Regions from separate parts of the Homo sapiens genome. Here region 2 is linked to region 1. Evidence: promoter capture Hi-C in human tissues and cell types (Jung and others, 2019). All regions are on one chromosome and are shown on one strand. The core of a region is centred on a gene start or on the middle of the fragment in contact, and the rest is flanking DNA. Distances in the headings are between cores, read along the strand shown. Region 1 holds the start of AAMP (angio associated migratory cell protein). Region 2 has its middle 15 kb from the start of RPL37A.

What was found. The method cuts DNA at HindIII sites, captures the fragments that hold promoters and counts their contacts. A contact is called where the count stands out against the background at its distance.
Region 2: a fragment that was not itself captured here is called in contact with the fragment with the promoter of AAMP in region 1 in 1 of the 25 tissues and cell types used here (lymphoblastoid cells).

The regions. Positions count from the first base shown.
Region 1 is chr2:218,267,667-218,273,834 of GRCh38, forward strand. AAMP (angio associated migratory cell protein) reads right to left here and starts at 2,471. Exons shown (of 11, transcript NM_001087.5): 1 at 2,300-2,471; 2 at 1,716-1,868. The coding sequence starts at 2,420. PNKD (PNKD metallo-beta-lactamase domain containing) reads left to right here and starts at 2,853. Exons shown (of 10, transcript NM_015488.5): 1 at 2,853-2,936; 2 at 3,715-3,883. The coding sequence starts at 2,870. RefSeq lists enhancers at 764-1,649, 2,218-2,537, 2,688-3,067, 3,098-3,147. The HindIII fragment of the contact is 2,176 bases long and covers 742-2,917 here.
Region 2 is chr2:216,510,809-216,516,976 of GRCh38, forward strand. No RefSeq gene overlaps it. Among named protein-coding and RNA genes, the nearest start is that of RPL37A, 15 kb to the left of the region's middle. The HindIII fragment of the contact is 3,266 bases long and covers 711-3,976 here.

The DNA.
Region 1 (6,168 bases), core at 1,221-3,720:
TGTCCTTCACAATCTTCAGGAAACCCACCCCCTTTCACCCAAAGCGTGTCTTTCCTCCTGGAAAACACAGGTACATCCAAGTTCTTCTAAGTTTCAAGAATTGGGTTGTTAGATCCTTCCCATATTTGCCAAGCTCCCTATTTGCCAGAGTAGATCCCCTCACTGTGTGACTCCCGTCACCACCCAACACCAATGCCATGGACAAGAGGTGGGGACAGGTGCAGGGCTTACAGTTGTCAGCATGGGATGCCACCGGGGTTGGGTACAGAGCGAGGAGAGCATCACGTTAAGGGTTTTTTGTTTTTTGTTTTTTGTTTTTTGAGACAGAGTCTTGCTCTGTCGCCCAGGCTGGAGTGCAGTGGCACAATCTCAGCTCACTGCAACCTCCACCTCCCAGGTTCAAGCAATTCTCCTGCCTCAGCCCCCTGAGTAGCTGGGATTACAGGCGCCCGCCACCACAACCAGCTAATTTTTGTATTTTTAGTAGAGATGGGGTTTCATCATGTTGGTCAGGCTGGTCTCGAACTCCTAACCTTCTGATCCACCCGCCTCGGCCTCCCAAAGTGCTGGGATTACAGGCATGAGCCACCGTGCCTGGCAACAGTTTCTTACTAAGAACTAGCACTTGAGAAAGTTATATAAAATATGCTCAAAAAGATATAATTATCTCTCATTTTATTTTATTTTTTTGAGATGGAATCTTGCTCTGTCGCCCAGGCCGAAGCGCAGTGGCACAATCTCAGCTCAATGCAACCTCTGCCTCCCAGGTTCAAGTGATTCTCCTTCCTCAGCCTCCGGAGTAGCTGGGATTACAGGCACATGCCACCACACCCAGCTAATTTTTTTTTTATTTTTAGTAGAGATGAGGTTTCACCATGTCGGCCAGGCTGGTCTTGAACTCCCGACCTCAGGTGATCCACCCGCCTTGGCCTTCCAAAGTGCTGTGATTACAGGCATGAGCCACCGCACCTGGCCAATTATCTCTAATTTTATACTCACTACTTTTATTAACTTTTATCAAAGATAACTTTTTTTTTTTTTTTTTTTTTGGAGACAGACTCTCATTCTGTTGCCCAGGCTGGAGTGCAATGGCGCAGTCTTGGTCCACTGCAACCTCCGCCTCCCGGGTTCAAGCAATTCTCCTGCCTCAACCTCCCGAGGAGCTGGGACTACAGGCGCCCGCTACCACGCCCAGCTAATTTTTGTATTTTTAGTAGAGACGGGGTTTCACCATATTGGCCAGGCTGGTCTGGAACTCCCGACCTTGTGATCCGCCTGCCTGGGCCTCCTAAAGTGCTGGGATTACAGGCGTGAGCCACCATGCCCAGCCAAATTTTTGTATTTTTAGTAGAGACTGGGTTTTGCCATGTTGGCCAGGCTGGTCTCGAACTCCTGACCTCAAGTGATCCACCTGCCTCAGCCTCCTAAAGTGCTGGGATTTCAGGAGTGAGCCACCACGCCCGGCCAAAGATAACTTTTTAAAAGAAAACTAAGAGGTTAATCAAGGTTAACTGGCAAAGTAGAGGGTGTCTCGACTGATGCCAGAAGCCAAGCAATCATCCATTCTGCCACACTTTCCCACCTGTGGGCTCCTCCAGCGCAAGGCCAGCATCTTGCCCATCTCTGTGTCCCCCATAACGTTCTGTCCATGGCTGATGTTTAATGCTTACACGCCCACCTAAACTGATTTGAGGTGGATCGCCTCAAAGACCTACCTGAGTGCAATGCAAAGGTGACCTCGCTATCGTCGGGGCCCTCCATGCTGCCGACCACCCCTTCCTGGGGTTCTAGAACCCAGCCCTCTTCGTTGCCCTCTTCCTCCTCTTCTTCCTCAAAGTCCACATCTTCCATCTCCTGGGCCAGGTCATCTGCTTTGGGGAGAGGGTTAGAAGATGGGGCTCGGGAGGCGGTAAGAGGTACGGAGAGAAGCATGAGGAGGCCTGAGGCTGGGGCGGGTCATGTGGCGAGAAGGGAAGGTGGAGTCAGACACACCGGGGTCCGCGGGGGCGCGCGGGACACAGGACGGGAGGCCACGGCTGGCCAGAGACCGTGCGGTAAGGGAGGGCCAAGGGGATGATGGGAAGGGGGTGTGTGAGGGGAAGGGCCAGAGGAGGCGTCAGGGAACCCCCACCCCAGCCAGGCCTGAGAACTAAGTGTGAGGGTGGGAGTGGGGGAGGAGGGGAAGAGGGATATCGGTAGGAATGACCAGTCGGGTGTGGAGGGGAGCGGGGAAAAGCAGGAGTCAGAGGCCAGGGGTGAGCGTCTCCTGTCCCATGGCCTGAGGAGCGGCAGTTCTCACCTGGGTCCGGCGGACCGGGATCAAGTTCTACCACCTCGATAATCTCTTCATCACCATGGAAGCTTAGGGTCTCCAGTGGGGGGGTGTCAGCAGCAGCCCCGCTTTCCGATTCGGACTCCATGCGGCGCAAGCGGCGGATCCACTTCTCTGGGCCCAAACGCCTCCCAGAGTCAGCTCTGCGCGACGACGCGGAACTCGAGCCCCTCCTCCCGGCAGGAAGTAGGCGTAGGCGACTCCCCAGCAGGAAGAGCGACGGCCGTTCGGCCAATAGCTACGAAGGTTGGCTGGCCGCCTCACCAATCACAGAGCGGCATTGGAAGATGGGGCCGGGGCGTGGCGGAGAGAACCCAAACTCCGCCCCACCTGACTCCGCCCCCAACTGGAGGGAAACAAGCGAGCGCGCGCGCCTCCGGGGTCTCCTGGGAAGAGTAGTTCTCCTGGGTCCGCTCTGCGGGCTTCTGGGAGATGTAGTTTCTGGTCTGTAGGCAGGACGGAAGGAGCGGGGGAGGCCCCTTACGCAAACTACAATTCCCGGCGGGGAGCGCGGTGAAGCGGGGGTGGGATCTGAACATGGCGGCGGTGGTAGCTGCTACGGCGCTGAAGGGCCGGGGGGCGAGAAATGCCCGCGTCCTCCGGGGTAAGGAGAGGGACCCCGGGGAGGGCAGGACTGCAGAAGATCCCTTTTCTTTCACGTCCAGCCCGACGATAGCAGGAGGTCAGGGCTCTTGGTTCCTCCCCACACTTTTCTGCAAGATCTTAGAGTCTGGGGGTGCAGAGATGCTCTTTAGAGGTCACCCAGTGCATCCCCCCGCCTTCGGGTTGCTCGACACCTCCGGGGTCTTGCTGCAAGAGGGAGCTCCTAGGAAGCCTGTTGGACTCCCGCGCTCCAGGTGTTTCACACTCACCGCAGTGCAGAGGAAAGAGCCCCGGGCTTCTGGAGGTTTGAGTTCCAGCCCCGGATAATTAGCAGTTTGACCTTGGGCAAAGCAGTTTTTCTCTCAGGGCTTCAGTTTCCTCTTCCGTACAGTGCAAGGGATGGAGTAGACTATCTTTAAGGTCCCTTCCAGTGCTAACATTTGCAGTTTCAAAACCTTTTCCCGGATTTCCTTCATACGTCTTATGTGAGTCCCACTGCAGTCCTTCCCATGCTGTCGTCTGAGGAAGAACAGCGAAGCTTTTCGTCCTGGCACCAGGGTGATGAGCCCGCAGTGACGTGGAAGTGGCTTCCAAAGGTGCCACCTCGGTGGCGATTTTCCCATTTCCCTTTGGATTCTCCTTGGCACTTCTTACTTCAGACTGCAGTCACTCCCCTTCCCCAGATCTCAGCCGCTCCTCCCAAGCCCTTACTGCCCCCCACCTCCCCGCTTGCTTTCTTCTCATCTCTTCTTACTGACCTTCCTTACCTCCATCCACAGGGATTCTCGCAGGAGCCACAGCTAACAAGGCTTCTCATAACAGGACCCGGGCCCTGCAAAGCCACAGCTCCCCAGAGGGCAAGGAGGAACCTGAACCCCTATCCCCGGAGCTGGAATACATTCCCAGAAAGAGGGGCAAGAACCCCATGAAAGCTGTGGGACTGGCCTGGTGAGTTTTAACCACCCCTTTGCCCACCAACGGGGCGTGGCTTGTAGGGGAGGGCAGGACTTAGAAACTTCTCCAAGTTTCAGGTGGCGAGCTGAATCCAAAGTTGTGGGAACAGAATTGTTGGGTTCGATTGGAATCTCAGAGGGGTGGGGCAGTGGAGGTGGGAAAGTATGTGGAATTGAGAAGACAGTGGGTTTACTGTGGAGTAAGCTGAGTTGATCTGATTCAGACTTGGGTCCCTGGCCTCATCCTCCCTTTTGGGAGCTTGGAGTGAGACCCAAGTTTAAGTAAGTAGTTCGTTGAGATCATGTGAGCTTGTACTAGTTGTATAGTAGTACTCAGAAGGCGTTATGAACATTGTGATTGGGCTCTGACTCTGACCTTAATACATATTATTGACCAATATTAAAGAGAAAGGAGGAAGAAATCAACATTTTTTTCTGCATGTGAGGTGTGCCAGTACTTTGCCATGTAATGTTTTAGTGTTTGAGATAAGTATTACATCCCCATTTCACAGAGGAAGGAACTGAGACTGAGCTAGGATTCTCACCTAGTCTGTGACTCCATGCTCTTTCCCCCATACCAAAGTGCCTCCCAAGCAGTGGTTACTTAGCTTAAGAGGGGAAAACTGGGAGGGTACCTTGGCCAAGTCTCAGAGAGGGAAAGCGTCAGGGCTGCCTGGAAAATCCTGCACAGGTGCTGTTGCAGGAATGCAGGGCTCGTGCTGAGGATCAGGCTCTAGGCGGGAGGAGGAAAGAGGCAGGCAGAGACCCAGCCACACTGGGCCTTTTGTGCCATGTTTGGACTTGGCCAGGAAGTGATGGAGTTACGGGGTTTTAAGCAGGGAAGTGACAGGATCTGATTTGTGTGGGTCCCTCCAGCAGCCAGCACAGAGGATGAATAGACTATAAGAGGTATTGCAGCATTCATGCAACTGATGAAGCTAGAATGACTCCCCCCAGCTCCTCTGGCTCAGGCTTGGCCCCTCCCCAAACCCCGTGCACATCTCCCCACCCGTAGGGCCATCGGCTTCCCTTGTGGTATCCTCCTCTTCATCCTCACCAAGCGGGAAGTGGACAAGGACCGTGTGAAGCAGATGAAGGCTCGGCAGAACATGCGGTTGTCCAACACGGGCGAGTATGAGAGCCAGAGGTTCAGGGCTTCCTCCCAGAGTGCCCCGTCCCCTGATGTTGGGTCTGGGGTGCAGACCTGAGGAGCGCTGCGACCCTCCTAGGCTATTGACTGTTAAGTCCTCAGGTTTGGCCCAGATTCCAGTTCGTGCCTCTGAGGTCCACCAGAGGGCGCATGAAGCCCAGGCTGTTGCCAAACCCTACCCTGCCCCACACCAAGGAGCCAGCCAAAGGCAAATAAAGTTATTGAGTGTTTAGTAGAAAGGAACCAGGTCTGGGTTTGTGAGTCCCTTGGGATGGGAGGGGCAGAGGGTGGGGCTGGTTACTCATGTGTGCTCCCTCTCACAGAGCTCAGTGTTCCCAGCTGGATGGTGGGGCAAACCCAGAGACTTAAGTGCAACCAGCCTAGGCCCCGGGCCCTCGGGACCAAGCCCTCAGAGCTGCCGGCCAGGAGGGTGGGGTCCCGCTCAGCCTTGAAACAATAAAGAGAATCAAAGAAGGTATTCAGGGTGTGGAGGCAAAAAAAAGCACTGCTCTTTACTGAGTCCAAATGACTCGACTCTGGGCCTCAGTTTCCTCATTTGTTTTGTTTTTTGTTTTTTGTTTTTTGAGACGGAGTCTCGCTCTGTTACCCAGGCTGGAGTGCAGTGTTGTGATCGTCAGCTCACTGCAACCTCCACCTCCTGGGCTCAAGTGATCCTCCTACCTCAGCCTCCTGAGTAGCTGGGACCCCAGGTGAGTGCCACCATGCCCAGTTACTTTTTGTGTTTTTTTTTTTTTTTTGGATTTTTTTTTACTTATTTTTTTTTTTTTTTTTTGAGACAGAGTTTCACTCTTGTTGCCCAGGCTGGAGTACAATGGCATGATCTCAGCTCACTGCAACCTCCACCTTCTGGGTTCAAGTGATTCTCCTGCTTCAGCCTCCAGAGTAGCTGGGATTACAGGCACTCACCGCCACTCCCAGTTAATTTTTTTTTTTTTTTGTACTTTTAGTAGAGATGGGGTTTCACCATGTTTGGTCTGGCTGGTCTCAAACTCCTGACCTCAGGTGATTCCCCCCCACCGCCCTCGGCCTCCCAAAGTGCTGGAGTTACAGGTGTGAGCCACCGCACCAGGCCCAGTTTCCTCATTTTGTAAGATGGGACTGGAGTTGAC
Region 2 (6,168 bases), core at 1,094-3,593, 1.8 Mb before region 1:
GATTGAATATCTCACAGTGGATAATGTGGAATGGTGGCTCCATCCTTTGTTTTTTACCCTATTTCCAGAATGGTGAAACTCCTTTATTTGACCCATGGCCCATGGAGGGAGGGCTGTTAGGGTTGGAAAATCAAGTGCAAACCTCTAGGGTTGCCTCTCCTACACACAGTAAAACAAAAGGAATCCCTGGGTGAATCACAGATAAATGGCTTATCCAAACATCTGAAATTTTCATGAATAATGATCTTATGATCATAACTAACCTCAGCTATGATTCTGGGTATAAATCTATATTGGAGGAAATCAACATATCTTCTGGCCATGACATACTGCTCCTATTAACCTAACAAATGTATTTTTTCCTTTCATCCCTATCTGCAAAGTAGTCAAAACTAGTTTATCTTCACTTGCAGGGACAGCAGTATACTTTCACTGTTTTACTTCAGGGCTATCAACTCATATACTCATATACAACTCATATGTTATTGATGTTAACGTAATGGTGTTACTGTTATTTTTAAATGAATTGGTAAACAAATGTTTTTTTTTAAAATTCCCAGTATTAATTCCTTTTTGTGTTTTTGAGACAGAGTTTCACTCTGTGCCCAGGCTGGAGTGCAATGGTGCGATCTCGGCTCTGCAACCTCTGCCTCCTGGGTTCAAGCAATTCTATTGCCTCGGCTTCCTGAGTAGCTGGGATTACAGGCATGCACCACCATGCCCGACTAATTTTTTTGTATTTTTAGTAGAGACAGGGTTTCACCATGTGGACCAGGCTGGTCTCAAACTCCTGACCTCAGGTGATCTGCCTGCCTCAGCCTCCCAAAGTGCTGGGATTACAGGCATGAGCCACTGTGCCCGGCATCATATACTATTATAATATAATCCAGAAAGATCTTGATCATTTTGGTGTCTTAGGGAAGATACTGATCCATTACACTGATGACGTAACAAGTGGACCTAAAGAGATCAGGAAGTGTTGAGAATGATATACCCAGTACGATATGAATATGGTGTTTAGGTTATCTTGGGGATTTCCTACCTGAAGTGATAGACAAGTTGCTGCACTGTAGACTATTCCCAACTAAGAGACATAATCTTTACTGGGTCCGTTTGGATTGAGGGGGATGGTTGCAAAGTAAGTCACATTGAGTGTGCTTCTCTGTCCCATTTACTGAGTAACCTGTAAGACTTGAGTGGAGTCTGTCAGAGTTTTCAGTAGAGCCTGGAGAAAAAACAGACTTGGCAGCAGATCCAAGTTGTAGTCCCAAGTTGTTCTGGCACTTGGTCTGTATGACCTAGCAAATCTAAGTAGATTCGAGGTGTTAGTGGCAGATAGAGATGTCCTATGATGCTGCAAAAGAAAAATTGTAGTGCACTAGGGATTTGAAATTAATGACCTCTTCTGCTGACATCTGTTATCTATTTAAAAATTAGGTCTGGTTTGCTACTAGACCCTGGTAGAATACCTGAGCATGGAACATCACGTTTCTTTGCAACTGAATCTGTTTATTATAAACTTGATGTTATCTGATCTATAAAATTATAAAATTAGATGTGTGCAACAGCATTCCATTCCAAAATGGAAATGGTTTATACAAAATTGTACCAGAGAATATCCAGAAAATACAAGTATGCTGTTTTAAGCATGAAGCTTAGATTCCCATGGACTCTTAGATTCCCATGGAATATATTTAGGTGTATTCTCCTACTGCCTCACTGTTTCTCCTGGAATCAGTTGTCTTCTTGGGGAGTTTGTTATGTCAGCTAATGGAAGAGGGAAAAGTGCATCATGGATAGAACTACATCCTGTACTGGCATCAGCTGAAAGCGGACAGAGGTAGAGGGAGGACAGTGGTAAAGGGAAGTCCTCCCAGTGGGCAGAACTTAAGATAGTATCCCCTTTGCATGCAAGAAGAGATGGTCTGAAGTAGAGACTTATATTGATTGATGAGCAGGCAGAAAAGGGTGGTGTCTCCAGATACTCACATTACCTTGAAATGGCTAATGGGTTCGTACAAGCTGGCCAGAGATTTGGAAGGAACAAGAATGGAAGGCTGGATACTTCTTCAAGGTTGAACACAAGGATGTTTCAAGCATAGATATGTGGATAGAACTGCAACAAAAGAGGCCTATGCTGAGCAGCTAATGTGACACTATTCCCTAAGTGTACATTAGATGTCTCCCATCATGCAAAGGGCAGCAGTTTGTCATCCCAGGGATAGACATGTATTATGGGTATGGAGTTGTCTCTTGCCTACAGTGTATCTGCCAGCATTACCATTCATGGGCTTGCAGAATGCCTTATCCATCAGTGTGATATCCCATACCATATAGAGTTTAAGGTACTGTCCTACAAGATGTAGTTTATACCTTAAATCTATCAGTATATAGTGCTACCTCTTCCATAGCCAGAATGGATAGGTCAAGAAATCAAGTGATGGAGGTGGAACTTACTACATTGAAAATTCTGCCAGTTAACCCACTGAAAGCATTTTTATTTCCCCCGCTTTTGACCTGCTTTTGAGTTTGGTGACTTTGGAGGTCCTAGTTCCTAAGGAAGTAATGTTTCTCTCAGGGAATTCAACCTTGGTTCCATTTAAATTGAAATCTTGAGTCAGTTCTCTGATCACTTTGAGCTCATTCTACTGCTGAACCAGCAGGCAGAAAAGGTGGTCTCTCCAGATTATCACCTTTACCATCCAATAATTTCAGCTCTGTGCTTCAGATACCTTGCCATATCAAAAGAAAATATCCAGAAAGAAGCACCAAAAAAGGAAAAGAACAAATACGTGTACAAGACATAGGAGCTAGTTAAGAGTTCTTTTCTTTTTAGAGACAGTCTCCTCTGTTGCCCAGGCAAGAGTACAGTGACACAATCATAGCTCAATGCAGCCTGGGACTCCTGGGCTCAAGTGGTCTTCTGGCCTCAGCCCCCCGAGTAGCTAGGCCAGAAGCTACTGTGTGTTATGCCCGGCTTATTGTTATTATTATTAGTAGTAATAGTAGTAGAGATTGGATCTTGCCATGTTGCCCGGGCTGGTTTCTTGCTATATTGCCCAGGCTGGTTTCAAATTCCTGGCCTAAAGCGATCCTCCTCAGCCTCCCAAAGTGCCGGGATTACAGGTGTGAGCCACCATGCCTGGCCTCAGTTATAGTATATAATTGGAGTCCCACAGGAGAAAGGAGAGATGATAATGGCTTTTTTTCCCCCAAAACCAATGAAAGATACCAAGCCACAGTTTAAAGTATCCCTGTAAACTTACACAAAATAAAAATTTAAAAGTTACACCTAAGAATGTCATAGTATTACTGAATCCCAGAGAAAAAGAGCATAATAAAAGCAGCTAGTAGCAAAAAAGGTGTAACACTAACAGTTAACTTCTTAACAACCATAGAATCTAGAAGAAAATAGAGTTATACTTTGAAAGTGCTTCAAGTTCTGTACTCAGCAATTATAACATCAGAATATGAAGGTGAAACAAAGACAGTTACCTCTGCCACCACCACCAATAAAATACTGACGGAATTGATCACTAGCACACCCACACATCACACAGAAGGCAAATAATCCATGGATGAGACTTGAAGGAAGGAGTGGCAGTCAACAAACGGGAACTATGTCAGTAAATACAAGTGAATTTAGACCACATGAATAGTAGCAGCAACAACTTTGGGGAGTGAAACGAAAATGTATTACAGCAGCATATAAATTGGGAAAGGGTAAATAGTGTTAAAATATTCGAAGGTTCTTGCATTGTTCTGGAAGAAGTCAAACTACAAAGTTAGTATATGTTGCAATCTCTGATAATCATGAAAAGAATAGAAAGTAATATATAACAATACAATGGAAATAGAATTGAAAAACAGAGGAGAGAGAAAAAGAATTTGTAAGACAAGTAGTACCTAGTAAGGTAGATTTAAACGTACCTGTGCACACATGTATATACATACACACACACACATATATATATAGGCACATTTATATATATTTATATCTAAATTTATACATTTGTAATATATATAATATAGTACATATTACATGTGTATTACAATATTACATATTGTATGTAACATATGCCTGTGTACACATGTATATATACACACGTATATAATATACATATTATATATATAAATGTGCCAGTAATAACTTTGCATACAAATAGACTAAGTGTGTCAATTAAAGATATAGTCAAATTGGATTACATACCCAAAGTATAAGGATTAAAGAAAAACCTAAAGCACAAGGAATCAGATATAAAAATAAAATATAAGGAAACAGACTCACCAAAGTTATAAAGATACCGAAAGAGTGAAAGTAAAAGGATGGAAAAAGATATAACAGGCATTTAAGAAATAATGATCCATGAAATGAAAGCTGTGTTAATATCTGACAATGTGGACTTAAAGGCAAAAAAGCATTACTAGAGACAAAGAAGGACATATATATTGTTAAACATATGGAAAACGTGCATGATTTTTCAGCAATTCTGGGGCATTGATATGAAACACTAGATAAGTAGGTGGCAATGGCTCTGAAAATATTCTTGAGGTGCAAATTGAACAATTAATTGAAGAACTTAGAGAAACACTGACTAGAGAAAATCAAGGGGCTGGCTATGGTGGCTCACACCTGTAATCCCAGCACTTTGAGAGGCGGAGGTGGGCAGATTGCTTGAGCCCAGGAGTTCAAAACCAGCTTGGGCAACATGGCGAAACCCTGTCTGTACAAAAAATAGAAAAATTAACCAGGTGTGCTGGCATGCGCCTGTGGTCCCAGCTACTTGGGAGGCTGAGGTGGGAGAATGGCTTGAGCCCATGAGGCAAAGGTTGGAGTGAGCTGAGCCGAGATTGCACCACTGCACTCCAGCCTGGGCGACAGAGCCAGATCCTATCTGAAAAAAAAAAAAAAAAAAAAAAAAAAAAAAAAAAAAGCAATGGCAATGAACAAGACGACCCAGCAAGTTGGAATCATCATAAGCTGGAAAACGTGAATTTGTTAATTTCTAAATAATAGAAATCTCTATCAAGCAAAACTTAAAATGTTAAGAAATGTTTCAGCACTCAAGAGGTAGCAGTAATAGATGCTAACCATCTTTTTTTTTTTTTTTTGAGATGGAGTCTTGCTCTGTCGCCCAGGCTGGAGTGCAGTGGCATGATCTCGGCTCACTATAATGTTTGCCTCCCGGGTTCAAGTGATTCTCCTGTCTCAGCCTCTCAGTTACAGGAGATTACAGGCGTGCACCACTATACCCAGCTAATTTTTTTTTGTTGTTGTATTTTTAGTAGAGATGAGGTTTCATCATGTTGGTCAGGCTGGTCTTGAACTCCTGACCTCAAGTGATCCATCTGCCTTGGCCTCCCAAAGTGCTGGTATTACAGGCATGAGCCACCACGCCTGTCCAATGCTCATCTTTTTTTAAAAAAATAGACTTTTCACACTGTACAAGAACCAACACCTTTGTGATTTGTTTTCTGTTCCTGAAGCCTGCCTGTTCCATTTTGTTTCCTGAGCTGGCATTAAACATTGATGTATTCCTTAAAATGTCTCTTCTGTTTTTGAAACAGGGCTTTGCTCTGTTGCCCAGGCTGGAGTGCAGTGGCATGATCACGGCTTATTGCAGTCTCAAACTCCTGGTCTCAAGTGATCCTCCTGCCTTGGCTTTCTGAGTAACTGGGACTACAGGCATGCACCAACATACCTGGCTAATTTTTTTATTTTTAGTAGAGACAAAGTCTCACTATGATTCCCAAGCTGGTCTCAAACTCCTGAGCTTAAGCGATCCTCCTGCCTCAGCCTTCCAAAGTGCTGGGATTACAGACATGAGCTACCGTGCCTGGCTATTCATAACAATGTCAAGAGGGAAATACAATCGTTACTGTTGCATGTATATCACCATATTCACTATTTGTTTTGTGTACTGACGTAGGTGTCACAGTATAGTCAATAGGTCCTCTAGTTTTTGAAGATTTACATAGTGCACTTTAGCCTTGGAACTTAGTTCATTTTCATACATTTTTGGGGAACCTAATCTGTAAACCAAGAAAGTACTTATCTGCAGATACTCATTCCTTCAACAAAGTGGAGAAATTTGTCAACATGTATTGGCTGTAAGCATCATATATAACACTAGGGGGTGATAGAACATAGCCAGAGGAAGGAAAATA